6 separate regions of the Homo sapiens genome follow, and regions 2, 3, 4, 5 and 6 are each linked to region 1. Evidence: promoter capture Hi-C in 16 types of primary human blood cells and fetal thymus (Javierre and others, 2016). All regions are on one chromosome and are shown on one strand. The core of a region is centred on a gene start or on the middle of the fragment in contact, and the rest is flanking DNA. Distances in the headings are between cores, read along the strand shown. Region 1 holds the start of ZNF22 (zinc finger protein 22). Region 2 overlaps ZNF32-AS3 (ZNF32 antisense RNA 3). Region 3 overlaps LOC105378275 (a long non-coding RNA gene). Region 4 holds the start of ZNF32-AS3 (ZNF32 antisense RNA 3). Region 5 overlaps ZNF485 (zinc finger protein 485). Region 6 has its middle 33 kb from the start of ZNF32.

What was found. Contacts are between HindIII fragments. The CHiCAGO score rates a contact against its expected background, and 5 or more counts as called.
Region 2: a fragment that was not itself captured here is called in contact with the fragment with the promoter of ZNF22 in region 1 in 8 of 17 cell types (total B cells, total CD4 T cells, non-activated CD4 T cells and 5 more); the score reaches 13.4 in total B cells.
Region 3: a fragment that was not itself captured here is called in contact with the fragment with the promoter of ZNF22 in region 1 in 1 of 17 cell types (total CD8 T cells); the score reaches 5.4 in total CD8 T cells.
Region 4: a fragment that was not itself captured here is called in contact with the fragment with the promoter of ZNF22 in region 1 in 2 of 17 cell types (total B cells and activated CD4 T cells); the score reaches 5.2 in total B cells.
Region 5: a fragment that was not itself captured here is called in contact with the fragment with the promoter of ZNF22 in region 1 in 1 of 17 cell types (activated CD4 T cells); the score reaches 6.9 in activated CD4 T cells.
Region 6: a fragment that was not itself captured here is called in contact with the fragment with the promoter of ZNF22 in region 1 in 6 of 17 cell types (total B cells, naive B cells, total CD4 T cells and 3 more); the score reaches 9.1 in total B cells.

The regions. Positions count from the first base shown.
Region 1 is chr10:44,998,319-45,003,476 of GRCh38, forward strand. ZNF22 (zinc finger protein 22) reads left to right here and starts at 2,605. Exons shown (of 2, transcript NM_006963.5): 1 at 2,605-2,660; 2 at 4,962-5,158. The coding sequence starts at 5,051. It overlaps LOC124902530, which reads left to right. Exons shown (of 3, transcript XM_047426129.1): 3 at 2,462-4,065. The coding sequence ends at 3,091. ZNF22-AS1 (ZNF22 antisense RNA 1) reads right to left here and starts at 2,485. Exons shown (of 4, transcript NR_126421.2): 1 at 2,212-2,485; 2 at 1,968-2,098; 3 at 999-1,104. RefSeq lists a silencer at 2,645-2,994 and an enhancer at 2,721-3,221. The HindIII fragment of the contact is 6,687 bases long and covers 1-4,755 here.
Region 2 is chr10:43,658,819-43,663,944 of GRCh38, forward strand. The region is part of intron 1 of ZNF32-AS3 (ZNF32 antisense RNA 3); the gene reads left to right. Among named protein-coding and RNA genes, the nearest start is that of ZNF32, 13 kb to the left of the region's middle. The HindIII fragment of the contact is 3,787 bases long and covers 37-3,823 here.
Region 3 is chr10:43,808,166-43,812,769 of GRCh38, forward strand. All of the region lies in intron 2 of LOC105378275 (a long non-coding RNA gene), which reads left to right. Among named protein-coding and RNA genes, the nearest start is that of LINC02658, 32 kb to the left of the region's middle. The HindIII fragment of the contact is 1,837 bases long and covers 370-2,206 here.
Region 4 is chr10:43,623,981-43,629,154 of GRCh38, forward strand. ZNF32-AS3 (ZNF32 antisense RNA 3) reads left to right here and starts at 4,837. Exons shown (of 5, transcript NR_038867.1): 1 at 4,837-4,998. The HindIII fragment of the contact is 294 bases long and covers 2,517-2,810 here.
Region 5 is chr10:43,607,452-43,612,555 of GRCh38, forward strand. It overlaps ZNF485 (zinc finger protein 485), which reads left to right. Exons shown (of 5, transcript NM_145312.4): 3 at 1,163-1,289; 4 at 1,804-1,899. Among named protein-coding and RNA genes, the nearest start is that of ZNF485, 3.6 kb to the left of the region's middle. The HindIII fragment of the contact is 1,859 bases long and covers 714-2,572 here.
Region 6 is chr10:43,679,185-43,684,056 of GRCh38, forward strand. No RefSeq gene overlaps it. Among named protein-coding and RNA genes, the nearest start is that of ZNF32, 33 kb to the left of the region's middle. The HindIII fragment of the contact is 529 bases long and covers 1,381-1,909 here.

The sequences.
Region 1 (5,158 bases), core at 1,355-3,854:
ACCGTTGTGGTTACATGTGAGCTTCTGTGGCTCTGCTCCATGTGTCTTATCATCCTGGTTCCTAGACTAAAGGGGCAGCCCCTACTTGGGACATGCTATTCTCAAGGCAGAGGGAAAGAGCAGAGTCCTGGCAGAAACACAATGACTTGAAGTTTCTTCTGGGATGTGATGTACCCCTTGCATCCAGTCACATGCGGTCAGCCAATTCAAATCAGTGGTCAAGTCAACATCAGTGGGACAGGCATGTGGTTCACCAGGAGGCACCGGAGTCACACCACAAAGTGCAGGGACCAAAACCAGAGAAGGTGGAGCAAACCCTCAGGAATAATCATGCCTCAGGAATCTCACGTGAGATCCTCAAATGCTGCAAACAGTGCCTGGCACACAATAAGCACTCAATAAGTGTTAACTATTATTATACTAACAGCTAGGCTGAAGGCATAAAACCCTACCTGCTTTCTCTCCCTGTCTTTTTCCCATTCTCCTTTACCCTCCTCTCCTTCATATATTTTTCTGGCTCTCCCTCCTCTCCATCCTTACTGCCCAGGACTCTGTCCACACTTAGGGACACACACCCCTTTATTTCCTGACTTTCGTCTCTCTCTTTTTAAAAAATCCATCCTCGTTTACCCAATGCTTTAGTTGACATACCTCTGGCCCTTCTATGGCTGGCCCAGTTGTTTTCAGGTATAGGAAAAAGGGATAATCCATCTTTATGTAGACATTAAAGGAGTTAGTTTTAATTAGTAACTACCTTACTAACAAAATGGCTTTTTAAAAATTATCTTTTTATTTTAGTGTACATAGAGCAGACAGTCCCAACGGGTCATGTTTGCTCCTGACGCTTTTCCTAAACCATTTCTAGATCTCTGGCCATTGCCCTTTACCCCAAACTCTCCAACCACCAGCATCAACCAACTTATAACAATTTAATAATAAAAGTAACAACGACTCTCATTTCTTCTGTGTTATACATTGTGCTAAGTGCCTTACATTACCTCATTTAATCACTGCAATAGTCCAGATACTCTCTAGATTGCGAGTGGAGCTTCTTTGTCCAGACCTCATTCAGCTTTGTGCTTTGCCATATGCAGAGACAGCTCCCTACAGAGCAGAAAGCCCCAACTTAAGAGAATGAACCTATGACTTAGTTTAGCCTCCACCAACAAACCACTGTATTACTTCAGGCAGGTCAGCCTCTCTTGCTTCAGTTTACTGATTTGCAAGACAGATATGATAATCTGTGCTTCATGAGACTATGGTGAAGATGAATAACCAGAAGATAAGATGTAAAAGTACTTTGTAAACAATAAGGCATCTTATAAATTCATTCATTCAACAGCTATTTACTGAGTGTCTGTTCCCTGCTGAGCACTGTTTTCAGCACTGCAGACACAATAAAGAACTAAAGAGACAGATCATGAGAGGCATCGGGTGCCACTGCGAGGTCCTTGGCTTTGCTCTAATAAGTTGGGAAGCCTTTGAAGGTTTTGAACAAATGAATGACATGATCTAACTTAGGTTTAAGAGGATTACTCTGGGGCCGTGAATAGACTGTAGGGCAACCCGTCTGGAAGCCAATATAATAATCCAGAAGGTGGATGAAGGTGGCTTGGTGGTTATAGCAGTGGAAGTGTTGAAAGTGGCTTGATAATGAATATATTTTAACGATGAAGCCGACAGAATTTGTGGATAAATCACAGGTGAATTTTGGATGAAAAAAAGAAGAGACAACAGTGACATCAAGGTTTTTGGCTTGAGCAACTGGAAAGATGATGGGATCTTCACCCATCCCTGGGAAGAAGACTGTTGCAAGAACAGGTTAGGTAGATATCAGGAATTCATTTGGGGGGTATGTTAGGTTTGGGATGTCCATTACACATGCAAATGCAGCTCTTGAGTAATCAGTTCGATATACAAGTCTAAAGTTCAATAACATTTATGTCCCACAGTCAGACTGGAGTTACCAATGCGGGAGTCTTCAGCATGCAGCAATAGCATTGGAAGCCAAAAGGCGGAGGAGCTCCCCAGGGAGTGGGGGAACACGGAGGTCAGCTGGTCAGATGACTGAGCACGGCCAGGATGGCTGAGGAGGAGCCTGGAAGGAATAAGAACAAAGAGAGATCATTACTAATGAGCAACAAAAGGGGTGTGTTGAAATCAGACTTTGGAGCCACAAAGAACCATTCCAATTCTGGGTCGTCCGCTTACACACGGTGAACGGAGCACATTTCTTCTCTGAGCCTTGGTTCCTTTCCTGTAAATGGAGTATAACCACTCCCATCTTGCAGGAGCTTTTTGGTGATAATTAAGGTGACTTCGTGAAAAGTACCAGGGTCTCAAAAATCTCAAAATTTGTGGAAAGTATGCAGTTTCTAGGTTGGAGAGGCTAGAGTTTGGTTTCAAAAGCCTCGACCACACACAGGGGCGGTTACAGCTCTTGAGGTCCCGGGGGTCACAGGACGCCTTCCGAGTTGGGGGGAGGAGAAAACAAAACCACAGGAAGAAACGAACAACGCTTTCGGGTGGGCCCGGGACCATAGAGGGTCGCTCCGCCACTTTCCTAGAGCGACCGCGGCGGCGCCAGAGCGCGGCGAGGCCCTCACTTCCGGCGGCGCGGGAGGCGCCCAGCGAGCCAGAGTGGTGGCTGGTCCCGCGCGGTGAGTGGGATTGGGGCACTTGGGGCGCTCGGGGCCTGCGTCGGATACTCGGGTCCGCTCGGGAGCGCGCTGGCCGCAACGAGGGCGGCGCGGGCCCGGGCGATGGCGTGGCTTGCGTCTCCCGCCTCCGGGCAGGGCCTGGCCGCCGGGCGGGGGCGGGAGGGCCACGCGGGCCCAGGGTGGGGCCGCGGCCTGCGCGGCGGGCGGGCCGGGTCAATGAGGAGCGGCCGGCGGAGTGCTGGGAACGGGAGGCTTGGACTGGGGGCCCGGGCGAGGCGCGGCCCGCGGCGGGTGGAACTGGGCGGGTGAGCAGCAGCCCCGGCCCCTTCCGTCGCTCGGAGCGTTCGAGGACTAGATACGTGGAACAAATGCTTAGGCAGCACAGGGCTGCTCTGAGCGGTTTTCAGATTCAGACTCATTGCAACTTCTAACATCTTGATGGTGTTGCCACTTTATCATTACCCTCCCCATTTTACGAGGAAACTGAGGCACATTCCAGTTAGCTGGGTGTGCAAGAACAGCAGCTTCTGTCACTCAGGTTTAACTTCGTGCTTGCCCCTGCTGGGGAGCTATGCAAAGCACGGGTCGCCGCGCTGGACTGAGCAATGGAAGATGTGGCTGCCACTAAGAGTACAGGCTCTGGAGTCAAACTGCTAGGGTCTGGGAACCCGGCCAGTGCCTTCTAGCATTGTGCCCTCGTTTCCTTAACTTAAAACGGAAATAACTGCATAAAGGTGCCAGGAGAATTAAAGAGCTAGCACAGAATCAAGTTACACAGTGTCTGGCACATACTAGTATGATTGCCTCATCCGTAGGTGGATTTGACAGTCTGAGTTTCTGACTAGATCTGACTTCCATTGTATTAAATGCGTGTGCTTTTATGTATAATGACCATTATAGTTATTAAAAAAAAAAAAAAGCAACACCAACACCATGTACCTAACACAATGTCTCCTGTGTGGTAGATGTTCTGTAAATATTTGCTTAAGTTAAGGAGTGGGTAGTCCTAACTGTAATCTTGTGTTATATGCGGCTTACTCTTACGCTGACCATAATTACAGCTGATGTAATTATTAAATATCCAGATAAAGTCCTGGACCTAAAGTCTCAATTATACAATAAGATGAAAGGAAGGCAAGAAAAATTATGTTTTTGTTTTCATTTATTTGCTTTATATGTTTGTATGCAAAGAAACCCAGAATAATTGTTTCTATTTTAAATTCCACATTCTGACACAAGATAATGAAAAATAGTTCCAATAATTTTATTGCTTTTGAAGTTCTAGATTTTCCGACATTGCCACCTATGTGGGGTTTGTAGGGGTTTTTGTTGGTTTGTTTTGGCCGTTATTTTAAATAGCCACAAGTCAGCCTTATAAATAAATAAAATCATTTGAAATTTTGAATTTTGCAGCATTTGGGTATTCTAAAAATTCCATCCTAGTTTTACATGTAAACTCATTTTCTCCCCCCTCTCCTTTTCTTGTGTCCTACCTACCATGCGTTTTCTACTCAGTTTCATTCCACTTTCTGGTAAAAGTTCTTTTGCAGTTTTTCTGTCTCCGAAAACAGTACTTTCGTTTTGGGTTTTCAACAAATTGCTTTCTTGGATCATTAGGATCTATAAAAACCAATAATAAAGCGTGTCTTCATAGACTAAGTAAACCTACCACTCCCTGTAGAGAAGTTTCAATTTTCAAAACACTTTATGCTACAGAATTAGAGCTAAACTGTCATCTAGAGCTATGGAAATCGAATGCTAAATACAGATAAACAGGAATATATCATAAAGTAGTGTAATTTGTCATTTCTTATTCATTTGGATACCTTAGGCAGTTACTAGTTAGTAGAAGTTTAACATGGAACTAAATATTAAAGCATAGTAATGTTCTGTTACACAAATTTTGATTGTCTTTTGGAGTTACTCCATTCCCATTAAGATTTACCTTATCTCCACTTTTTAGTTCTTCAAAATTATGTACTCATTTGGTAATGCTTGGAAGATTTATATTTCACCTGATCACTTTTAATTTGTCTTGTCCCAATAGACAGAAACTCCAGTGGTAAACTCAGTCAAAATTTGGTGATATTTGTTAAGCTTAAACTCTGGAATTGTTAGAATTACTTTGCAAGTATTTCCCCCAAATTTCCCCCCATATTATCTTTGTTTGCATTTATACTTTTTAAATTTAAACATGAATGCAATTTTGGTGGGTTGAAGAGATATTAAAATTGAATAGTTAACAGATATCTGTAATTTTTTTTCTGATCATCTCTAAATTTTTTTTCCTTCTACACACAGAAAATTCTGAGCTGTACACCTCTAGGAAATGAAACACTAGTTCAGAAGAAGCCTGTAAACTCTCTTACAAATACATTTGGTTATTCACCATGAGGTTAGCAAAGCCTAAAGCGGGTATTTCTCGGAGCTCAAGCCAAGGAAAGGCCTATGAGAACAAGCGCAAAACAGGCCGGCAGCGGCAGAAGTGGGGCATGACT
Region 2 (5,126 bases), core at 680-3,179, 1.3 Mb before region 1:
CTCAACAGCACCCCCAGGCTCATGGGGGGTGTCGAAAGCTTGTGGTGGCCCCGAAGCTACTTGAAGTAATGGGGAATTCAGGAAAATCACTAAACTCCAACAGGAAGGGCCAAGGAAATGGATACAAAACACATAATGCACACACACACACGTAAGTAATGGAAGAGAAGATAGTATCATTTTAAACCAGCGTTTAAGATCATGAGCTAAATAATAAAGAATAGAAACAGGTGGGAAAGTGGACGGAGGGAAACCAAAAATCATTAAAGACTTACACTTCCATAAAGGGCAAACCAAGTTTTGTGTGTTCATTACCAGTATATTTATTTATTATTATTTTTAGATGGAGTCTTGCTCTGTCACCCAGGCTGGAGTGCAATAGCGCAATCTTGGCTCACTGTAACCTCTGCCTCCTGGGTTCAAATGTTTCTCCTGCCTCAGCCTCCTAAGTAGCTGGGATTACAGGCACCCACCACCACGCCCAGCTAATTTTTGTATTTTTGTTTTTTAAAGTGGAGATGGGATTTCACCATGTTGGCCAGGCTGGTCTCCAACTCCTGACCTCAGGTGATCTGCCCACCTTGGCCTCCCAAAGTGCTTGGATTACAGGCATGAGCCCCTGAGCCCAGCCTAGATATATTTTAAATGAGACTGATACTGTTTTAGGATAATAACTCTAGGATCAAAACTGGGCTGATTTCTTGGCTGACCTTAGTAAAAGATGGAAGCAAACAAGAATGTGGCTCCCTTATCCCAAGACAGTAAATAGATAAGGAAGATGAAAAGCTGGGCCTGCTCTGCAGGTGTCCATGGTAGGCACTGCCAATGGGGCGGGGGCTCCCTCACCTCCCACGATTTCCCTACACGGGTCCTTCCAGCTTTCCTGTTAATCATTTAGTAGATCTGCCACCTCCTTCTTCTCTCTCCATCACTCCGCACCATCTGTGTGAACTTTTTCTGGATTTCTGGATGGGCTTCTAAATGTTGACTTGTCTAAAATATACAAGTATTGTGTATATTAGGCACCCAATAAATTCCAAACCATAACGAATACACAAAATCCCCTAAAGACCGGCTTGCGGCCGGGCGCGGTGGCTCACGCCTGTAATCCCAGCACTTCGGGAGGCTGATGTGGGTGGATCACTTGAGGTCAGGAGATCTAGACTAGCCTGGTCAACATGGTGAAACCCCGTCTCTACTAAAAATACAAAACTTAGCTGGGCGTGGTGGTGCATTCCTGTAATCCCAGCTACTCAGGAGGCTGAGGCACGAGAATTGCTTGAACCTGGGAGGCGGAGCTACAGTGAGCCAAGATCGTGCCACTGCACTTCGCCTGGGCAACAGAGTGAGAACCTGTCTCAAAAATACCAAACCATAGTGATGGTTTGGTATTATATTTATATTTGAGCACCACTATGCTCAAATATAAATATAATTTAAAAAATGGGCTTGGAAACAGTCCACGTCTGTCGCTCTTGGTCACAGATGTGTGTATGTAGCCATTGCTGCATAGAATCTATAATTTCATCCTTTGTAGTAGGCATTGTTCTTCCCTCCATGGTTTGGAGAGGTTACCACACATATCCAAGATCTCACAACCAGTGAGCAGTCGATGTGGGATTCTACCCAGGTCTGACTCAAGTACCTTGTTCCTTCCAACTCACCAGGCTTTCATGACGGGATATGCATTGGGCAGCAGCAGAATAACCAGAAAGCCTTTGCCAAATAGGATCACAGGCACTGACACCAATATTAATATTAAAAGGGCATGGTTTAGTCAACTGCAATTGGCAAAATATGTATAAACAGCATTTAACAAAAATTATTATCAATATTAAGGATAATGTCTTTGAAACTTTATGAATTTTGTTACTTTTTGACATAAAGACATAAGATGTAGAGTTAGGAGCAATTTGACAAAATATGTTAGACAATTTGACTCACCATTATTAAAGTCAAGCTGGCAAAGGTAAGTAGAAATTACAAAAATACAAAACAGAATTCATCGATAGATTCTGACTTTGGAGCCTTTCTTTGAGACAGGGTCTCACTCTGTTGCCCAGGCTGGGGTGCAGTGGAGATCATAGCTCACTGCAGCCTCAACTTCCTGGGCTCAAGCCACCCTCCCACCTCAGCTTCCTGAGTAGCTGGGACTATAGGCACATACCACCACACCATCTAATTTGTAAATTTTTTTGTAGAGACAGGATCTCACTATGTTGCTCAGGCTGATCTCAAACTCCTGGGCTCAAGAGATCCTCCCACTGCAGCCTTCCAAAGTGTTGGGATTACAGGCGTGAGCCATCAGGTCCTGCCTGGGGACTTTCTGGTGTCTAAAATGTTTACAAAATATGGTAAATCATTATGACATAAAAAGGATCAAAGCATTAGAAAATACAAAGAAAATCAGCCAGGCGCAGTGGCTCATACCTGTAATCCCAGAACTTTGGGAGGGTGAGGTGAGCAGATCTCTTGAGGTCAGGAGTTCAAGACCAGCCTGGCCAACATGGTGGAACCCCGTCTCTACTAAAAATATGAAAATTAGCCTGGCATGGTGGTGCTCAAATATAATTAATTATAACTCAAGTATTTTGGGAGAAATACTTTTATGAAGTCAAATTTATCATTTTTTAATGATTTAATGTTTCTGTGTCCTAAGAACCCTTTGCCTACTCTAATTTTTTTTTTTTTAAGAATCTCCTGTGTTATCCTCTAGATGCTTTATGGTTCTAGCTTTTATTTTTAGGTCTATAACCCATTTTAATTTTTGTGTATGTAGTGACGTAGAGGTCAAAGTTCATTTTTTCCATGTGAATAATCAGTGCTTGAGCACCATTTGTTAAGGAAGACTTTTTTGGGAAAGAAAGCAAAGGCCCTCTCTCCCGAGGGCTTCTGGACTGAATGCTAACAGCAGTCTGGGCTAGCTAAAATTATAAAAGACAACGCAACCAAATATAGGCAAGAATATATAGCACTGAACTCTCAAATATTGCTGAAAGGAGTATAAAATGGCTGGAGAACTTTAGAGACCTTTTGTTAATTTCTTATAAGTTTCAAGATACATCTACCCTATGGTTCAGAAATTTCACTCCTAGGTATTTGCCAACAGGAATAAAACACGTCTACAAAAAGACTTGCACAAGAATGTAGCCTTATTCGAATAACCCAAAAGGGAAAACAACCAAATGTCCATCAATAGTAGAATGGATATACAAACTGTGGCACATTAATACTATGGAATAGTAGTCAGCAAACAACAAAAGGATGCTCACCTGACTCGCACAATATACATTGATCTCAAAAAAACATTATGTGGATTGAACGAAAGCAAGACACAAATACAGACAATATGATCCCATTTATATGAAGCTCAGGAAGAGAAAAATTAATCTATGATGACAGAAATCAGAACACCAGAGCATAGTTTCTCTGGGATGGAAGAAGGTGGGAGGACTAGTTGGAAAGAACTTGAAACACTTGGGGTAATGGACATGCACCATCTCTTGTTTACAGTGATTGCACAGGAGTAATATAATTACCAAAGCATATTGAAATGAATGTTTTGCATTTTTTTGTGTGTCTAAATTACATCTCCACTAAAAATTACCACCAAAGAAGTTGTATCAGTGAAAGTAGATTAGATTATACTGCAGCAAAAACAGTAAAATCCTAGTGACAAGTCAAAAAGGTGTATTTCTTCTCTATTCCATTCTCATGCTATCCTATTGCAGGGAATTCTACTCATTGTAGACATTCAGCAACCCAAGCTGACAAAGCAGCCAGTATCTTTACAGTGCCAGTTACTATGGCAGAGAGATAAGAAAGCTTTGGAACATCTTATACTGGCAATTAAGTGCACAGCCCAGTAGTGACATAAATCACATTTGCTCATATCTTAGTCTTTTTAGTGTTGCTATACAGGAATACCTGAGGCTAGGTAATTTATAAGAAAAAGAGTTTAAAAAATTATTTATTTATTTATTTGTTTGTTTGTTTATTGATTTATTTATGAATGACAGGGTTCTGCTGTGTCACCCAGCCTGGAATACAGTGAAGCAATTATAGCTTACTATAACCTCAAACTTCTGGGTTCAAGTGATCCTCCTGTCTCAGCCTCCCAGAGTGCTGGGATTACAGGTGTGAGCTATTGCACCCAGCTGAAGAAAAGAGGTTTATTTGGCTCACAGTTCTGCAGGCTGTACCAGAAGCATGGCACCAACATTAGGTGAGAGCCTCAGGCTGCTTCCCCTCATGGCAGAAGGTGAAGGGGATCTCTGTGTGTAGAGATCACATGTTGAGAGAGGAAGCAAGGGGGAAATGCCAGGCTCTTTGCAGGAACTTACTCAGCCCCACCCCTGGACACTAATCTATTTATGAGGGGTCCACCCTTATGACCCAAACACCTTCTATTAGGCTCTTACCTTCAACACTGGGGATCAAATTTCATCATGAGGTTTTCAGGGGTCAAATATTCAAATCATAGCAGCTCACAAATTGTTGTCCAGAACTAATTACACAATCTAATTCATCCCTAAGTGTGCCAAGAAGCACCATCCTACAATTGGCCAGAAAAATTGTGGTATGGACTGAATTGTGTCCCCTCAAAATCCACATGTTGAAGCTCTAATCCCCAATGTGACTGTATTTTGGGATGAGGACTTTGAACAGGTAATTAAGGTTAAATGAGGCCATGAGGACAGGGACCTAATGCCACAGTGCTGATGTCCTGAGAAGAAGAGGAAGAGACAGCAGTTTTCTTAGTCCATTTGTGCTACTATAAAAAAATACCACAAACTGGGTAATTTATAAATAATAGAGCCTATTTCTCACTGTTCTGGAGGCTGGGAAGTCCAAGAGCAAGGCCCAGGCAGGTTTAGTGTGTGGTGAGGGTCCAGTCTTTGCTTCCAAGATGGCACCGTCTAGGTGTCCTCACGTGCTGGAAGGGATGGAAGGGCAAAAAAGGGCTGAACTAGTTTCTTTGAGCCCTTTTACAAGGTTTCTGATCCCATTTATGAGGGCAGAGACTTCATGGCCTAATCATCTCCTAGAAGCTCCACCTCTTAATACTGTTGAAATTCAGTTTCAACATGAAACTGAATGTCGGCAGGGACACAAACACTCACACC
Region 3 (4,604 bases), core at 38-2,537, 1.2 Mb before region 1:
CACAGCTTTTCCACGGACAAAGATCAGCAATTTGTTTTTAAAATAAAAAGTCAATGTTAAAGTGAAGTTGGCATCAGGTAATTGAGATGCTATCAGGATCCTGAGTGGGGACTGAACACATGCAACCACACAGTGTAGTATTTTTAGGCAATTGCTCACTCATTTGAGAAAACACAGTGGGTAAAACTGTTTCCCTTGTGGTGACTGTTGGACTTCCTGCATTTTCAGAGGTTTTCTGTATTTTCATAGGAGTCCCATTTCCTTTTAAGAACCAGATTGCCAATGCCCCATTAGTTAGCTTTCCACTCCAACAGGCCGCTTGCTCTTTTGCCTTTCCCTCCCCTTCTCTTTTAAACCAATTAATTAAAAAGCTTTACAAAAACAATACATGCTAACGTGAAAAATTAAAGCAGTATAGAAAACTACAACACAAAAAGGAAAAGCTCCTCTGCCCTCAGCTCCTACACTCCTCAGAGGTGGCCATCATGAACATTGGCTTCTTTCTAGAACTTTTCCTGCATAGACAATCAGAGAAACATAGATTGATAGACTGATTTATGCAAAGATGGCTGAATAATGATGTTTAATGCTCTGTTACTTGCTTTTTCCTACTTAATTTATGCTAGACATGATTTCACAGCAGTTGTCAAGGAGGTCTATCACCCTTTTCAACATTTGCATTTTTTCAATTATAAATAAAAAATTAATTAATTAAGAAACACTTGCATTTGGTTCTACTGTAGAAGTGTACCATCATTTGTTTAACCAATATTCCACAGATTGACTTGTAGATTACTTCAGAGGTCTTAATATTAAATGTTCCAGTAAATATCCTCAGGCATGTGTTTTTGAAGAACAGGGCTAGTGTATCAACAGGAGATTGTTTTATAGGTCTTTATAAAATTAAACTGTTTTCACTGGTATAAAAATTTAATAATTGTCAAATAAAATGTTGCTCTTTTAAAGTTTCTTCTCATTATCAAATGACGCTTTTTTTTTTGTCTTGGTCTTCTATAAACCTGCCCTTAAGCTGTGACAAAATTAATTTAAAAAAATCGATGTTGGTCCATGGGATCCATAAATTCTTTTTATAGATCGTTTAACAGAATTCTGTGTCGTGGGCGAGGCTCCAGGCTGGTGTGCAGCGGTGCGCTCCTGGGTCTGTGAGTGGGCATTCCTCAGAATCCCCACAGCCTGACCTGCTGCCCTTTGCTGGTTTCACTTGAAGCTATTATTCCAATTGACTCACTCTTGGCTGACATCTGGATGCGTTTTATAACAGACTGTTTTCATAACTCCACAAAAAGGTTCTCAGGATTAATACTTGTTTATTTTCATTTTCCATTGGACCTTAAATTAGCTAGCAGCCAATACTGGCACAACCCCTTACTGGAAGCCATTTTACCTAAGTGGAGGGGATGGCAAATCCATCCAACCTTGGGTTTTCTGTTGCTTTAAAACCTCTTGCCAACCAACTATTCCAGAGTGGCTGTCAAATCAACCAATAGCAAAATATTTGGGAGTATTTGTCAGTTAGCTGGGGTAGAAGCAGCCAGATGTGTGGATAGGTCATACAGTTACCTTCCCCGTGTAAGTTGGGGCCAGGGTAACCCATGGACATGTGTGCATGTACAACACAGGTGCATGTACAGCCAAGCATACAGGTGCCAAGATATTTTATTGGGATATTATGTGTTTTCTTCTCTCTGTTGTAGGTATTTTTTTTTCCTCTCCCACCTGAAAATTTTTTCTTTGCTTTTTGAGATTGTACTTTCAAAGACATTCAAGACACCCAGATTTTAAATTCAGGGTGTTAATCCAGGGTTTTGTTTTTGAAGACCTGGGATCATTGAAGGGATTAAGTTAGATTTTCCTAGAGGAAAGAGGCAAGTGACTGCCTTTGAATTTAAGGATTGTCTGTATACGTGTGTGTGTGTCTGTGTGGTGGAGGAGGGGGTTGTTTGCCCTTTAACATTTGTTCTTTTAAGGTTTCTTCTCATTATCAAGTGACACTCTTTTTTTTTTGTTCTATAAACTTACCACTGAGCTGTGATAAAATTGATCATTTAAAAAAATATGTGTTGATCTGTTGTGATCTATAACTTATTTTCTTATAGATTATCATGGGCACAGCTCAAGGCTAGTGGTACAAGAGCACCCCTTCCCAGCAAATTAAAAAGCCTGTTATTTTTGCAAAAGCATTAGAAGCTTTCAACAATGTTGTCAAGAGCCTTTCTTAACTCTTTGGTGACTGGTCTGAGTCAGTCACAGGTGGAAGGTGTGATGTGATCAGACAGGCCCTGACATTTCTTGTGAACTCATGAAATCCTGCATCTTTTCCAAATGTGCAATTTTGTTTTTGAAATTAATTTTTATTATCTTCACATTGTGTTGGATGATCAGAGGATTATAATTATTCCCTGCCCCAGGGGAGAGTATTGCAAAGGTACATAGGGCATGAACGTGGGGAGGGCAAGAAGTGTGCCCAAAGCGTGCTATAGCACAGTGTGTGTTCCACTCCTCATACAGCAATGAACTGGTGAAGGAGTTAAAATCTTAATGATTTCCAAATGATCAACAGTTTTTAAAAACATAAATATGCAGCATGAGAGCCTACATTTGTACAAGTGTATGGTTGTGTGTGTGTGTGTGTGTGTGTGTGTATGAACATGCTTGCATGTATGTGCTCACAAATGGGGAGGAAGCACAAGAGGCAAAAGGCAATGGTTTGTTTCCTTTTTGAATTTAGGAGGTATGTTCAAGACAAGGAAGTTCTTTTCTTATCTTCATCAGACTACTGGAAAATGGAATAAAAATACAAACCATAAACTTCAGGCACTCAAGTTTCTGAGTTAAGAGTAGCATTCAAATGTTATTCCAAACCTCTATGGTCATAAGATTTCTATATTTTAAGTTGGGTGGTACAATACTAGCTCTAAGTAGGCGGTAAAAGTTAAGGAAATGTATTGTAATTTCTAGAACAATCACTCCAAATGTAATGCGATGAAGTATTGCTAAAAAGCCAACAGAAACATTAAAGTGGAATTCCAGACACTTCAAATAAACAGTCAGGAAAGCTGAGGATAATTCATTTAAAGTGTCTAGGGGCAGATAACAGGCCTTAAATGAATGGTTAAAGAAAAGTCAGCAGAAGAGAAAAGCAAAACAAAAACAAAAAGAAAGCACTCTGTATTTCCTCTCCTAAACATTGTTTAAAAAGCAGCTTGCAGGATATAGAGAAAATTCTTTTGGAAGAACGCTTGCTTAAGTAAGGTACCTAAATATCTTACCTAAATAAGATATTTTCGAACAACAAATACTCATACTTTTAAAGAAATACAACCACAAGCTCTGCAACTTAGAGATCAAAAAATGAGAGGCAAGGAGAATTGATACATGGAGAGGAACAAATATAGCACCACAGGACTACTGAGTTTATTAGAATTGATGTTGTCAAAAATGGAACTGTCATATGGATGAGATTTTAGAAATTATACAGTATGCAAAGGTTAGAGGGGGATTTGAATACTATGGTAAGTACAAGCAACAGGCAAATGTGTTCCAGTGCACCACTGATGCACTTCAAATAGAGAAAAGAGCACTTTGGAACAAAAAAATTATAGTTAGAAAGGATTTTTAAAATAGTTTAAAAAAACTTTCCGGAAATGACAAAAGATCTGAATTATTAGATAAGAGTGCTTATCATGTCTTAGGAAAAAGAAAGTAACCATTCACCAAGACATGTTCCATGGAAGCGACTATACTTCAAAAATGAATATAAATCCTGTCAGCACCAGAAAGAAGAAAATCATTTATAAGGGGAAAAAGATCATTCTTGCTCCAAATTATCCCAACAATATTTGGGAAGGAAAGACAAAAGGGAGTGAGAGAAAAAGATTGTGATCCAAGAATTCTGTATATTTGGGTTGCTAGTCATCTGAAAAAACAATGAAATAATTTTCCAACAAACAAGAAAAAAATTAATCCTTTGTAAGATACTCGTGACCTTTCTTGCCATGCTAATATGGAAAACTTTGGATAAGCGTAGTGTATTAGTTAGGGTTCTCTAGAGGGACAGAACTAATGGAATAAATATAAAATTCTGCTTGTTTAGTTTCTCTGAACAATGCTGTAATAAGCATTGGTGCCTCATTTTATGGGCCCTAGAGGATACCTACATGTGATGATTAAAGCTGAGTGTCAACTTGATTGGATTGAAGGATACAAAGTATTGATCCTGGGTGTGCCTGCCAGGGTGTTGCCAAAGGAAAGGGGAGTTTATTAAGTATTAACTCACACGATCGCAAGGTCCCACAGTAGGCCATCTGCAGGCTGAGGAGCAAGGAGAACCAGTCCCAGTTCCAAAACTGAAGAAATTGGAATCTGGTATTTGAGGGCAGGAAGCATCCAGCACGGGAGAAAGATGTAGGCTAGGAGGCTAGGCCAGTCTCTCGTTTTCACATTTTTTTCTGCTTGCTTATATTCTAGCCTCGCTGGCAGCTGATTAGATTGTGCCCACCCAGATTATGGGTGTGTCTGCCTTTCCCAGCCCACTGACTCAAATGTTAATCTCCTTTGGCAACATCCTCATAGACACACCTAAG
Region 4 (5,174 bases), core at 1,414-3,913, 1.4 Mb before region 1:
TTGAGAATGGTCAAAACAATCTTGAAAAAGAACAAAGAACAAAATTCATCCCAGTTTCAGAGCGTACTATACAACTACTAAGGGGGAAAAAACAAACTTTTCCATCTGCCCTCACACCACGACAGCAATCAACACAGAAGACTTCTGTGACCAAATGTGTGGGGATTTTTCCTGACAGATAGTGTCAGACCCCACAGGTTGAGGGCTCAAGCCTATAAGACTGCCTACAACCTCTCAGATGCTAGGTGCATCTGGAGGCATTCTGGAGGTAAGCCCTGGCCACCAAAACTTCTGACCCACCAGCTTCAAGTTGGGGCCCCCACAATCACCTCTTTGGGTTCCATTTACATAACTGCTGTCACCACACAATTAATTTGCTAGAACAGCTCACAGAACTCAGGGAAACACCTACTTAAATTTACTGGTTTATTCTTAAGGATATTACAAAGGAAAGTGATGAGGAGGTGCCTAGGGTGAGGCATGTGGGAAGGGGTATGGAGCTTTCATGCCCTCCTGGAGTGTGCCACCCTCCAGAACCTCCATAGGTTTTGCTATCTAGAAGCTCTCTGAACCCTGTCCTTGAGGTTATTATGGAGGCTTCATTACATAGCCATGATTGTTTAAACCACTGGCCATTGGTGATCAACATAACCTTCAGTCCCTCAACCCTCTCCAGAGGAGGTAGGCCTGAAAGTCCCAACCCTGTAATCCTCCCTTGGTCTTTATGGTGACAGCCCCATCCTGAAGCTACCTGGGGGGCTGTCAATGCATTAACATACAATAAGACATCACTTTGGTGTTTCTAAGGGTTTTAGGAGTTGTATGCTAGGAAATGATTTATATATTATGTATTTCACAATGTTACAGCTACTACATTTATCAAGACACTGTGGTCATAGCATAAAAGTAGACATATAGACCCATCAAACAGAATAGAGATTCTAGAAATAAACCCTTATGTTTTTGGTCAGTGGATTTTTTTTTTTCAGACAGGGTCTCTCACTCTATTGCCCAGGCTGGAATGCAGTGGTAAGATCATGGCTCACTGCAGCCTCGACCTCCCAGGCTCAAACGATCCTCCCACCTCAGCCTCCTGAGTAGGTGGAACTACAGATGTGCAACACAACACTGGCTAATTTTAAAATATTTTTATAGAAATGGGGTCTCCCTATGTTGATCAGGCTAGTCTTGAACTCCTGGGCTCAAGCAATCCTCTTGCGTCAACCTCTCAAAGTGCTGGGATTACAGGTGTGAGCCACCGGGCCCACCATCATTGGATTTTTTTTTTAATGGGCTCAAGTGATCTCTGTAGTCCCAGCTACTTGGGAGGCTGAGACGGGAGGATCACCTGAGCCCATTACCAATGGATTTTTGACAGATGTGCCAAGGCAATTCAATGTGGAGAAAGGATAGGTTTTTCAACAAATGGTGCTGGAATAATTGGATATCCTCATGTAAAAAAATATACGTTTAGTCATTTTACATCATACATAAAAATCAAGAAAGATAATTGACCTAAATATAAGAGGTATAACTATAAATTTGGTTTGGGATGTAAAAGCGAAGGGAAAACTTCCCCATTGCCCTCTGAAAGTTTGCTGAAAATCACTGACAAAAGGCAGATTAATAGAAAAGGCATGCACATTTATTTGATCATAGTTTTACTTGAAATAGGCATGCGCCTGTAATTCCAGTTCCTTGGGAGGCTGAGGCAGGAGAATTGCTTGAACCTGGGAGGTGGAGGTTGCAGTGAGCCGAGATGGCGCCATTGTACTCCAGCCTGGGCAACAGAGCAAGATTCCATCTAAAATAAATAAATAAATAAATAAATAAAAAGAGGCCGGGCGTGGTGGCTCATGCCTGTAATCCCAGCACTTTGGGAGGCTGGGGCAGGCAGATCACGAGGTCAGGAGTTCGAGACCAGCCTGGCCAACATGGTGAAACCCCATCTCTACTAAAAATACAAAAATTAGCTGGGTGTGGTAGTCCCAGCTACTCGGGAGGCTGAGGCAGGAGAATCACTTGAACCCAGGAGGTGGAGGTTGCAGTGAGCTGAGATCGCACCATAGCACTCCAGCCTGGTGACAGAGCGAGACTCTGTCTCAAAAAAAAAAAAAAAAAAAAAAGAAAGTTCAATAAGCACATGAAAACATCGTTAGATATTAGAGAAATGTAAATTAAAACACAATGAGATGCCACTGATGCTTTATGCCCCAGGGAGTGTTGTCTGTAATAAAAATCCACTAACAAGTGTTGAGGGATGGTATAATTTGGATATTTGTTCCTTCCAATTATCATGTTGAAATGTGGTCTCCAGTGTTGGAGGTGGGGCCTGGTGGGAGGTATTTGGGTCATAGGAGTGGATCCCTCATGAATGGCTTGGTGCACTCCCTGTGGTAATGAGTTACCTTGAGATCTAATTGTTTAAAAGAGCCTGGGACCTCCCCCACTGCCACCCCACTCTCTTTCTCACCATGTGATGTGCTGGCTCCCCCTCACCTTCTGCCATGATTGTAAGCTTCTTAAGGCCTCACCAGAAGCTGAGCAGATGCTGGTACCATGCTTGTACAGCCTGCGGAATTGTGAGCCAAATAAACCTCCTTTCTTTACAGATTACCCAGACTTGTGTATTACTTTTTAGCAGGGGTGTCCAATCATTTGGCTTCCCTGGGCCACATTGGAAGAATTGTCTTGGGCCCCACATAAAATACACTAACGCTAATGATAGCTGATGAGCTAAAAAAAAATTGCAAAATTCTTATAATGTTTTAAGAAAGTTTATGCATTTGTGTTGGGCTGCAGGTTGGACAAGCTTGCTTTATAGCAACACAGGATGGACAAATACAGGGGAGAATGTGAAGAAACTGGAGCCTTCATACATTGTTGGTGGAAATGTAAAATGCCATTTTGACAACAGTTTTCCAGTTTCTTAAAATGCTAAATACAGTTTTACCATATGACCCAGTGATTCTACTCTGAGGTATACCCAAGAAAATTAAAATATATGTCCACATAAAAACTTATATGTAAATATTCATAGCATCATTTTTCTTTCTTTCTTTCTTTTTTTTTTGAGATGGAGTCTTGCTGTGTCACTCAGGCTGGAGTGCAGTGGCGCGATCTCGGCTCACTGTAACCTCTGCCCCCAGGTTCAAGCGATTCTCCTGCCTCAGCCTCCGGAGTAGCTGGGATTACAAACATGCACTATCATGCCTGGCTAATTTTTGTATTTTTATTTGAGACAGAGTTTCATCATTTTGGCCAGACTGGTCTTGAACTCCTGACCTCAGGTGATCGACCTGCCTCGGCCTCCCAAAGTGCTAGGATTACAGGCGTGACCCACCGCATCCAGCCGTCATTTTTCAAAATAGCCAAAAACTGGAAACAACCAAAATGTCCATCAACTTATGATTGGATAAACAATATCTGCTATATTCACACAATGAAATATTACTCAACAATAAAAGGAATAAAGTACTGATACATGTTACTATATGGATGGACCTCAAAAACATTATACTAAATGAAATAAGCCATATATTGTATAATTCCTTTTATATGAAATGTCCAGAAAAGGCAAGTCTATAGAAACAGATATTAGATTTATGGTCCCGTGGAGCAGAGGGTAGCAATGAGGGATGATTGCAAATGGAAATGAAGTTTGTTAATGGTGTAGTGCAAATGTTCTAATGATAGATTGCAATGTTAGTTGTTCAGCTTTGCACATTTTCTAAAAATAATTGAATTGTACACCTAAAATAAGTGAGTGTTATTGTATGTGAATTATGCCTTGATAAAACTGTTTTTAAAAATAATAGCAAGATATGGGAGTTGAGGGTGTTTGCAAGCAGGTGATTGATTCAAAGAGGGACCATATAATGTAAGCTGGTAAGGAAGGTTGAAGAGTAGTGGGAGAGTAGCAGGATCCATGAATTATTGATGCAGCTGACAATTTATTGGCTTTAGTTCACTAGAGGAAGTGAGATGCAAAGACAGGAGTTGATAATCAGAAAATGAGATGATTAAAATTGAGACCATTGTTGGATTAATAATGCAGAAGTTACAAATATGATCATGGATGGAGGTGAGTGGCTCTGGTCTTCTGGAGAGGAAGTTCATTGGAAGTAAGGAGGAAAAGTGATGAGTCATTTATAAGCACTCCAAGTGTGATGACAGTAGAGCTGGAGTGAGTGATAATGATACAGGAACTAAAATCTTCAAGGGGTGACCCAGGTGATAGATGATTGCTGCAAAGAGGAATAATGTGTACAATGGCTTTAAGGCAAGAGACTCAACGTTGGAGTTAAGAGGGAGGGAGAGAGTATTGCCTTGAAGCAAGCAGAGACAGGGTCACAACAGGCTATAGTCAGGATTATATGAGATGTTTGTATAGGCAAAACCCCAAGAAACTTCCTGAAAGGTTACGGTAATAGTAAAACAAGTTTTTCCATCACATCTGTAGCTTGTGTTGAATGAGATGTATTGATTACAGTCGCCATCTCGGACTATGGCAAAGCTAGGGAGGTTAGTGGCCTGAAAACATAAAAGGAGTATAATCAGTAAAATCAAGAAAAACTAGGCAGGCTGGCCAGAATTACTGGGAAGAGATAGAAATTAGAAAACAAGCAGAATTGTAGAGTGATTTGCATTCTTTAATCAAAGGAATGAGGCTCTCTAAGAGTAAGGTGAGATTCAGCACTGCAGAAACACAAGTCTTGGTCATGGCTGGATTGTACATTCTGTTGTCACTAAGTCCCTGACCCTATGGCAACGACATCATAATGACCCCAAATGCAAGTAAAGTAAACAAAATCAGGGCAGGGCTACAGGTGATCTGGTGAACTGGACTTGGTGGATGGTGTGGAAGGGACTTTGGGAGAGACCTGTGCCCATGATAAAAGGGAAGATGAAGATGTTCCTTTGAGTTTGCATGTGTGGGGCCTTTTTGGCATGGTTGACTTGTCTGTACTCCTTCCTGTGACTTGACATCAAAATTAGGTAAGAAATCATGTATTTATTCATCCTTGTTGACTTTTCTAGTTTTCTGTGGCATTGATTCTTGAATGGAAGCCCTAGCAATGAGGAACTTGGCGTGGAAAAGGAGGACAGACATGCACTGTCTCAACCCCCTGTGTAAGGAGTAGGGTAATCCAGGCCACCTGCTGCTTGGAATT
Region 5 (5,104 bases), core at 393-2,892, 1.4 Mb before region 1:
GAGATTTGCATAATTGCAGAGGATACTAGGGGAAAGCGCTGCCTGAATGAAGTCATTATGGCGGGACCATGAACAAACTGGTCTGAGAAAGTTGGAAACATTCATGGTCTAGAATCCCAGACTGGAGTTTGCTTTTATCCTGGAGAAAACTAGGTTTTGAAGGATTTTGAGAAGCTGATTAAATAATTGGTATTTTGAAAGGAAGTGATAAACATTTGAGTGTCTATTATACAAATAAAATTAAAAAAATTAAAGATCACCTACATTTCTACTGCTCTAAGTCAAGTAATTTCATTTGAAACACACTTTTCATTTTTTTAAGGCTTACTCATTTTTTCTTTTAGTATTTCATAGCCATTCCAATTTGTTCTAGTTTCATTACCACTTTTTGTGGCTTCCTTTTATACTGTGCCTTCAACCAGCCCTGGGACCTTGAGCAAGTTCTTCCAACTCTCTGAACCTTTGTGTCTTTAGCTACGAAATAGATTTTACTTTATATAGTTACGGCAGAAATTTAGAGAGATGATATGTATCTCAGGGTTTAGCACCGTGGCTGGTACATAGTAAGTTGTTACTCTTATGAAAAGCAATTTTTTTTTCTTTTTTAAAAATATTCTGCCCCAGAGTCAGATCATACTCCCTGTAAATTCTCGGATAAAGCTAATCACTTTCCATGTCTTTTCAAAGTTTCTATTCATTTGTTGATTGAATAAAGCTTGAACACTTCTGTGTCAGGCAGTGTTTTTGACTGGGAGGCAGCAGTGACCCACACTGTCCCCCTGGAGCTCACATTAGAGAGGATGCTGACAGTCAGTGCAAACCTCTCCTGCCAGGTGGTGAGAAATCCTGTGAAGAAAAGTGAAATGGGTTTCGAGACTGAGTGGCAGAGGATGGGGTGGAGAAATAGAAGACCTTTTTGATGAGGTGACATGAAGGGTGGAGTGAGCAGAGGCTAGGCCTGGAGGAGGGAGCAGGACAGGCATGCAGGAAGAACCTGCTCAAGGGAGGAGTCGCACATCCCCTGAGCCCTCAGCTTTTACTTGTTGGTTTCCATGAGCACTGTTGGAACTGTCAGAAGCTGGCTTTGACCACCTTGCTTCCTTCTCTTGGGATGCCTCCCTCAGGGGTTCCCGGATGAGCAGAATTGGGTTTGGTTTTGCAGGGACCGCTGACATTTGGGGATGTGGCTGTGGCCTTTACCCGGATTGAGTGGAGACACCTGGATGCTGCTCAGCGGGCCCTGTACAGGGATGTGATGCTGGAGAACTATGGGAATCTGGTGTCTGTGGGTGAGGATGGCTTTCTCCTTGACTCAGGATTGGTCTGCTGGGCAACTTTGTGTTTTCACAGGGTGAATGGTTTGGGGTATTGAAAAAATCTTAAATGATGTGCTTTTTGTTTTGTTTTTCTTAAGTATGGGCTTAGAGGCTGGAGTTTATGCCCCTTACACCCCTCAAGAAAGGTCAGAGCCATACAGAGTTAAGATGGGTAGCTTTGTGGTGCCAACTAGCCCAGTTCTGGAATGTTTCTGTGTCATGATTCATCTGCCTCCCAAAATAGGAGTTTCTCGTCCTCCAGGAGGACCTGGTTTTCTAGTTGACTTTGCCCCCTCCCTTTGCTTTACTTCATGAGTTGGACATCCTGGGTGCCACCCTCTAGGCCTCTCTGACCTGTCCATGCTCATTGCAGATGCTCAAGTTGACACTGAGGTCTGGAGTGACTGCTTGTGCTTGTAACCGCCATCACATTCCTTTTCATTCATTTTTTTTTTCTTCCTCTAAGATCCTTTTTCTTTATGAACAGGGCTTCTCTCTTCCAAACCAAAACTAATTACTCAGTTGGAGCAAGGGGCAGAGCCCTGGACTGAGGTGCGAGAGGCTCCATCAGGCACACATGCAGGTGAGTGGGTGGGGAACATCCCAGCAGAAGCTGAGCACACGGAGCAGTACGGGGGTTCCTGAGTGGAAGCTCATCTTTGAGTGCCCTGTTGGTGCAGAAAGGCACTGGTTTCCTCTTTTGATGTCATCCTCCTGTCAAGTGGCTGGCCGCTTTTCTCCCCAGTCTTTCTGCACTTGGGAGGGCTGCTGCCTTCCTGAGGGCCTCAGGCCCATCTGTGCCATCTCCCAGCCTTCTGAAATCCTCAAGCTCTTTATGTGATTTTTCTCTCTCTCTTTCCAGGCATTCACCAGGTATCTTTTGTTTCTTTCTACTTCTGTTCCATTTTCTTTCTTTCTTTTTTTTATATTTTTTGAGACAGTCTCGCCCTGTCGCCCAGGCTGGAGTGTAATTGTAGCTCACTGCAACCTCAAAGTCTGGACTCAAGCCGTCCTCCTGCCTCAGGCCCCTGAGTAGGAGTAGCTGGGACTACAGGCGTCCACCACAATGCTTGGCTAATTTTTAAATTTTTATTTTATGTAGAGATGGAGTGTCGCTATATTAGTCACGGCTGGTCTCGAACTCCTGGCCTCAAGTGGTCCTTCCACCTTGGCCTCTCAAAGTGCTGGGATTACAGGTGTGAGCCACCACGTCTGGCCCATGTTCATTTTCCATTCCTTACCCACTCTCTCATGGAAGCTTGCTAACTCACTATATACCACTTCCTGGTGGTAGTTGCAGATTCCAAACATAAGCATGGTTTTTTAGCTCTCAGGTAATTGCGATTTTTGGCAAACACATTGTTGGGGAAGCATTTTCTTTCCTTTTCTTAGGGATCTTCTTTTATTTGTCTTTTCTACTGTCCTTTGCTCTTGGCTCTCATTTTTTTCTGTGTATACTTTGTATATGTTTTTGTATGTCACTTTCTCTGTGCCATAGTTCATTTCTGAATCTCTAAGCCTGAATATTTCTCTCACCTAAAATATTTATCCTGCCAGTATTTTTTCTTCTAAAACTCTAATTGTCATTTTGCCTCTATCCTCTTCAGGAGAATGTTTATAACTGTATTTCATGTAAAATACCAGTAATACATAGTCTTGCTTAACCTAGGTCTTTGCTGGTTGTGGGTGGGATGCTTTTGAAGTAATTCCTTTTATTCTTACTGTGTTTAACATTTCCCCCCTAAATTCTTGTGTAGATTCTTTATATAGTAACAAAAGTCACTCAGTCTTCTTTATTCTTTGTTCTTTCTGTTTTAATTTTGGTTGTTATTTGAAATAGAATGTTTAAAACTTGGATGTAATGAAAACAAGCAATGTTTCCCCTAATATTTCTTTCATCTGCTTAGAGGACTAGTAAATCTTTCTACAAAGACTTCACAACCAGTCAGTATTTTATGTTTTTTTTTGTGTGTGTATATTTCCCTTTCTGTTAGTTGTTAGACATGCTTATGGTACCACATTCAGATGGTTCAAATGGTATGCAGTCTCCTTCACATACCTTTCTCATCACTCAGTTCCCCTCCCCAGAGGCATCCCTGTGTCAGTTTCTTGTGGAGATTTGTAGGTGTGATGTATACTTTGTGAGAGTATCCATGAATTCTTTAAGCACATGGTAGCACACTCTTTTGCCTGTTACTTTGGCATTTATGTCTTAGAAGTCATTTGACATAACTATATTGTTTAGAGCTTCTCTCTCTCTCTCCTCTCTCTCTTTCTTTCTTTCTTTTGGAGACAGAGTCTCACTGTTTCCTAGGCTGAAGTACAGTGGTGTGATCATGGCTCACTGCAACCTTGACCTCCTGGCTCAAGTGATCCTCCTGCCTCAGCCTCCTGAGTAGCTGGGACCACAGGAGCATGCTACCACACCTGGCTAAATTTTTTTATTTTTAATTTTATTTATTTATTTTTAAATTTTTTTTTGTAGAGATGAGATCTCGCTATTTTGCCCAGGCTGGTCTGGAACTCGTGGCCTCAAGCAATCCTCTTGCCTCAGTTTCCTAAAGTACTGGGATTACAGGCGTGCATCACCATGCCAGCTTATCTTTCTTTTTGATGCCTGCATAGTGTTCCACTTTATGGATGTCCTATAATTTATGTAATCAGTTATCTTTAGTGGACATAATGACTCTGAACAATGTTGCAGTGATTATCCTCATACACATCAATTCTCTTGTGTACAAGTAAATCTATAGAATAAATTCCTATAAGAATTGTTAAAGGTTAAAATTTTTAAATCCACCAAATTTGGTGGGTATTTCCGCTATTCATAAAGATAATACATGTTTATACTCCTAATGACAACATATGAGTGCCACTTTTATAGCTTGTCAGCAGTGTCTTATATGCTTTGATCCTTGCAAATCTGAGAGGTGAAAATATTTTATTATAATTTTAATTTGCCTTTCTCTTATCAGGAGTGTGATTTAGCATGTTTCAACATTTTGAGCAACCCTTGTATTTATCTTTCCTGAGAACTGCCTGTTCAGTCCTTTGCCCGTTTTACTGTGAGATTGTTGGTCTTTTTATTGTCAGTGTGAAGGGTTCTTTATACATTCAGGAAATTAATTGTATATCATATATATCACAGATTTTTTTTAAAAGTTTGTTTTATATCAGCTTTATATTAACAAAGGTAATGATGGATATGCTTGTCTTTGCATCTTTGCATTGTGTCTGGCCTTCTCATTTGAGCTGGCTGTTGAGTTGGGATACACATACATTGTTATTTAAAGGAAGTATTTCATTCACATGTTTTGTTAAGAAATTTTAGTTTTTTAAATCAAGCATGATTGCTGAATTTTATTAAATGCCTTTTCAAGGTATATGGAAATATCTGTCTTTTCCATTTTGATCTGTTTCTGTGGTAGATTTTATTCTCATTTATCTTGGCCATGACACATTATATCATTCTCTGAATATGACAGTGGATGATTCTGTCTGCCAATCTTTTATTTAAATTTTTGCACTGATACTTAAATGTATTTACGTTTTCTTTTTCATCTGCCCATTTTCATTGGGCTTTGATTTTAATTTTGTAATACTTTCATAAAACATTTTTTTGGTCTTTCATATTTTTATCCTTTAGTCTAGTTTAACTCACATGATAGCTGTTCCCTAAAGGTTTGGGTCCTTTGTCCCGTTTTTGCTTATTTATTGTGATGTGGAGCAGAGGGGAGGAATTGGGGGTACTTTTTTTGACAGTGTTGTCAATACTGACTTGTCCAAAT
Region 6 (4,872 bases), core at 395-2,894, 1.3 Mb before region 1:
GATAAACCCTGCCAAATGTGGTGAACAGAAAGGGAGGTAAAAGGAGTTGAAGGTCTCCCAAGAAAACGCAGTCTCTTCCACAGTTTGGTGTAAGTGCCGTGACCTCTGCTATCCTGTGTGTTGTATTTGTCCTTTGACTAATGAGGTTTCTGGGGCTTGGCTTTAAGGATCCTTTCTATAGTTGGAATTATTATTTTTATTTTTTATTTTTATTTTTAAAAAAGTATTGATGACTTTGTGGTTCCAAATGACTTTTTCCTGGTACATCAAAATATGATCTTTTTAGTTACTGTTTTTGTTTAAAGCCATAGTAACATAATTGAATTACAGTTGGGAGTAGCCATTTTGCAGAACTTTTAAAAATATCGAGCCAAATCTGTTTGCCATAGCACTTTATAACACTAGGATTAAATACTCTTTGACAAATGTTTTAATTGCTGACAAGTGCAACTTAGGGAGGCGGTTTTGAGGAGTTTTGGCTGGTGTCCCGGTGCCTGCTGTCAAGTGCTGGCATGGCCCAAGGAGCTCTGGTAACCAGGAGGCGGGGAAACCAGAGCATGCTGACTTGGCATGGCCCAAGGAGCTCTGGTAACCAGGAGGCGGGGAAACCAGAGCATGCTGACTTGGCCCGGACTTCTCCTAGGTTCGGAGTCTTTCTGTGCCTTTCTCCTCATGCCTGTTTGGGACATGACAGGACTCACCATGGCTCCACTCCCCAGAGTTCTGCTGGGATGAATGGAGTCAACCGGGTGAGCCCTGGATGAAGGGTGAGGCTCATGGTAGGGATTCCTTCCTCACTTCCACCTATGGTTTGAATGTCCCTCCAAAGTGCATGCTGAAATTTAATTGCCATTTTAACAATATGAAGAGGCAGGACCTTTAGGAAGGTCTGCCCTCATGAATGGATTGACGCTATTATCTTGGGAGTGGGTTCGTTATCACAGGCGTGGGTTCCTTACTAAAGGGTGTTTGCCCTGCCTTTTCTGCCTTCCCCTACCCTCTCTCATCCTCTCCTGCCCTCTTACCTTCCACCATGGGATGACTCAGCAAGAATGAGTCACCAGATGCTGGAGCCTTAATTTGCACTTAGCCCCCAGACTGTGAGAGAAATTTCTCTCCTTTATAAACTACCCAGTCTCGGGTATTTTGTTATAGCAGCACACAATGGACTGAGGCACTTCTTCAACACATCATGTCCCTAGCACAGACTGCTCAGACTTCTATTCAGAATTACTTCTGTGCTCATGTATTCAGTACAGAAGAAGTTGTTACTTGACTCAAAGTTATTTTATTTTTAAAATTAACATGCAGTAAGTGTGACCTTTTGGGAATGGGCTGTTCCACCACAATCAGGACACAGAATTGTTCCATCTCCCCCAAAGCTTCCTGATGCTGTTCCTTTATAGTCACACTGTCCCTTCCTTCACCCCCAGCCCCTGGTACCCACTCCATGACTATAGTTTTGTCTGCTTTGAGAATGTCATATAAATGGAATCATAGAGTATGTAACTTCTGAGACTGGCTTCTGTTACTCAGTGTAATGCCTTTGAGATTCAGCCAGCTTGTTGCATGGATCGGTAATTTGTCTTTTTACTGCTCGGTAGTAGTCTGTTGTATAGAGCTCTGATGGATAGGCCTGGCTGAGCCATCCCCCATGTCTTCCAAGTCACTAGATGTGTCAGTGAGGTCAGCTTGGTCCCTCCAGAAGAGCCTGCTTGCCAGCTGAATACCACCAAGTGATCTCTGCAGTGCCATGTGGGACAGAGAAGTCACCCAGCCAAACCTTGCCCAATTTCCCCAGCCACAAAAAAATGAGACATAAAGAAGCAGTGGCTGTTTTTACCCACTAAGTTTGGATTTGTCTGTTCCATGATTGTGGATAACCAGAACACACCCCAATGGGTACTTAAGCTTCACAGGAATAAGGATCACATCTCTTGACAACCTAAAACTTTGGATCCAGTGGTGCTCAATAAGCATTTTTATTTTTAAAAACCAATTTCCTCTCTGTGCTTGGCAAGACACTTTATAAATGTGTGATAGTGATGAGGACGTGGAATTATCTCGATAATTTCCTTGATGATAAGAAAATTATCCACTAGCTATCAAATACTGTTAAGTATGTTAGTCGTGGACTCCCTCATGAGTTGTGGGGACAATCACTGGAGCCCTTTGGGGCCCTGGGAAGAGGAAGGAGCACAGCAGATGCTTCAGGCAGAGCGCCAGCCTTGTTATTGGCTTGGCTTCCTCCTCCATCCCTGCAGGTCCTGTCGCCTGTAGTTTTCCAGGAATGGGTGTTTTGGGGCCTTGATTCTTCCTCAATGAAGCCCATCCTTCCTGGTCCTCCACCATGGTCCTCTCAACCATTGCAGGTGTCTCCCTCACAGTGCAGGGAGTGACAGCACGGACGCTGCAGCCAAGCAGGCTGACATTTGAATTCTACTTTTATCACTTACTGGATATGTAAACCTTGAAAAGTTTCCTAAATCCCCAGAACTTCAAATTTCCCATCTATAGGATGTGCATAAAAACACATACCTCAGAGGATTGTTTCGAGGATTAGGTGTAGTGATACATGTGGAGCCTCTAGCCTGGGCTGCAGGCGAGGGCACAAGAACTCTCTGTCTCTGTGGAGCAGGGTCGTGGCACCTGGCAGCATGGGCTATGAGGAAGGAAGGAGCCCAGTGGGTTCAAGGACTGGACGAAGGGCCAAGTGGTTGGAGCGCTGAGCCTGAGGGCCGAGGGACATAAAATGAGGTTTGGGAAACTCATAGGGACTTAATCAGGTGGGGTCTTGCAGCTGCATTGAGGATGCCAACTTTTTATTCTGGGAGCAATAGTCAGCCAGGGCTGTGGCTAGTTTTGTTCTTTGAAAATTTAGACTGCAGGGTTAGAGGTGTGCAGATTAAAGGTGTGCAACAGAGGATTCACAGCAGCTCAGGCAAGAGCTGATGGTGGCTGGTACTAGGGAAGTAATGGTGAAAAAGTACAACTTAGGAGAGAAAAATCCACTAGGTTTAGGGATAGACTAGATGTCTGATGGTGCATATTGGGGAATGTGAGGGAAAGAAGACATGGAAGATGATTTCCGAGTTTCTGGCTTCAGCAGCTGATGGATAAGGTGCCATTCACTGGGATAGGAACCCAGGAAGAGAAGCAATTGGCAGTGCCATGAGGTCAGGTTTGCATATTCTGGAAGAAAGGCCCTTGGACTTATGATGGGAGATATTGAGGAGACACATATATTCAGATTCAGAGCTCAGAGATGAGATCTAGGTAGAGATGTACCTTTGGGAGTCAGCTACCGGCAGATGGTAGACGTGTATTAGGGTAATTAATGCTCGCTTTTGAAACAAACCCTGGAAAATCTCAGTGAGTGAACATATAAAAGTTGATTTCTTGCTCTCACAAAGTCTGTTGTGGGTCAGAATGTTCCTCTGAATGGCCATCTTCCAAATGGTGACTGAACTCAGGTTCCAGAACAAAAGGGCTCGTTCAGGATGTTTTATGCTGTATGCCACTTTGGTCCTTGTCCCATGAGCTGGAACCCAGTCATGTGTCCCCAACGTAACTGTAAGAGAAACTGGGAATTATAGTTGGTCTATGTGTCCCACAAGAGGAACAGAGGTTGGTGAGCATCTAGCCAGGTAACCATGGTAATGAATGTTGTTATGAATGAGAACCCCCTGGGAAGAGAAGATGGAGTTTGAAGATGAGGAGCTTATTAAGGACTGGCCCTTGAGTCGTCTGTACATATACAGACAGTTAGAAAAAGGTGGACTGGCAAAGAAAACTGAGAAGGAGTAGCCAGAGATAGAGGAGGACAACTAAGAGAATGTGGAGTTAGGGAAACCAGGAGAAGTATGAGAAAATCAGAAGGAGTCTGACAACCATCCACTGAAACCAGTTACATGGAGAGCATTGATGACTCGAGGGAATATGCTCCTGGGGAGCTAATGAAGGCAGAAATCTGTGTGGACTGCATGGAGAGTCAGTGAGATGTGAGTCAACAAAAATGAATACAGACAGTTCTCTTGAGAAGCTTGATGTTAAGTGGGAGACAGGGGGATGGTGGCTAGAAGGAACATTGCAGTTGAGGCATTTTTTTGTTTGCTTTTTGCTTTGACGATAGGAGAGATTTGAACTTGTTTAAATGTTAAAATTTCAGAGAGAGAGAGAGGGTGCAAGCAAAAAATGGGAGAAGAAATCTGTGATGATGAACAGTCCCTGGAAATGTGAAAGTGTTAAAACTTCAAGTACTGGGTTTATCCTTTGAGCCTCCCATAGCAGCTGCCTCCAGCTCCATCTTCCCAGCCTTGTGCAGAGAAAGGAGAGGACCTGCCTGTCAGCCCTGTAATTTTGATTACCGTTGAAATTTCTCCCATTACACAACACACCTTGCTCAGTGCTGCAGAGATTCATCACTTAGACCAGAGCACCCCCAGCCCTCTAGCCCAGGGATGGAGTGAAGGGGGTCGATGTGAAGCTCAGCGGCTCCCTCTAGAGTTCAGCGAGAGTTCTGCCCTGTGGTGTTGCTTCTGCTCAAGTCTCCAGCCCGTTTCTCATGATTCCCTCCGCCACCCATCCACCGTATGAATCCAGCTTTTTAAAATAACTTACAGTTCTTCAGTTGAGTTTTGTTCTGTCATGTCTTTGACCTAACATGAAGTTAATTCCTCTTTCTGGACACAATTCCTTTGACTTTTTTTTCCCTGGTTATCTCTTATTCATCACCCAAGAACCTGTATCCCTCCTCATTCATTCCTGTCACCAAGAACCTGTATCCTTCCTGTGTGGTTCTTCGTGCTAAGCACACTGAGATAGAACTTACAGATTTCAAGCAAATGACTCAGTAGCAGGCAAGACATTCTG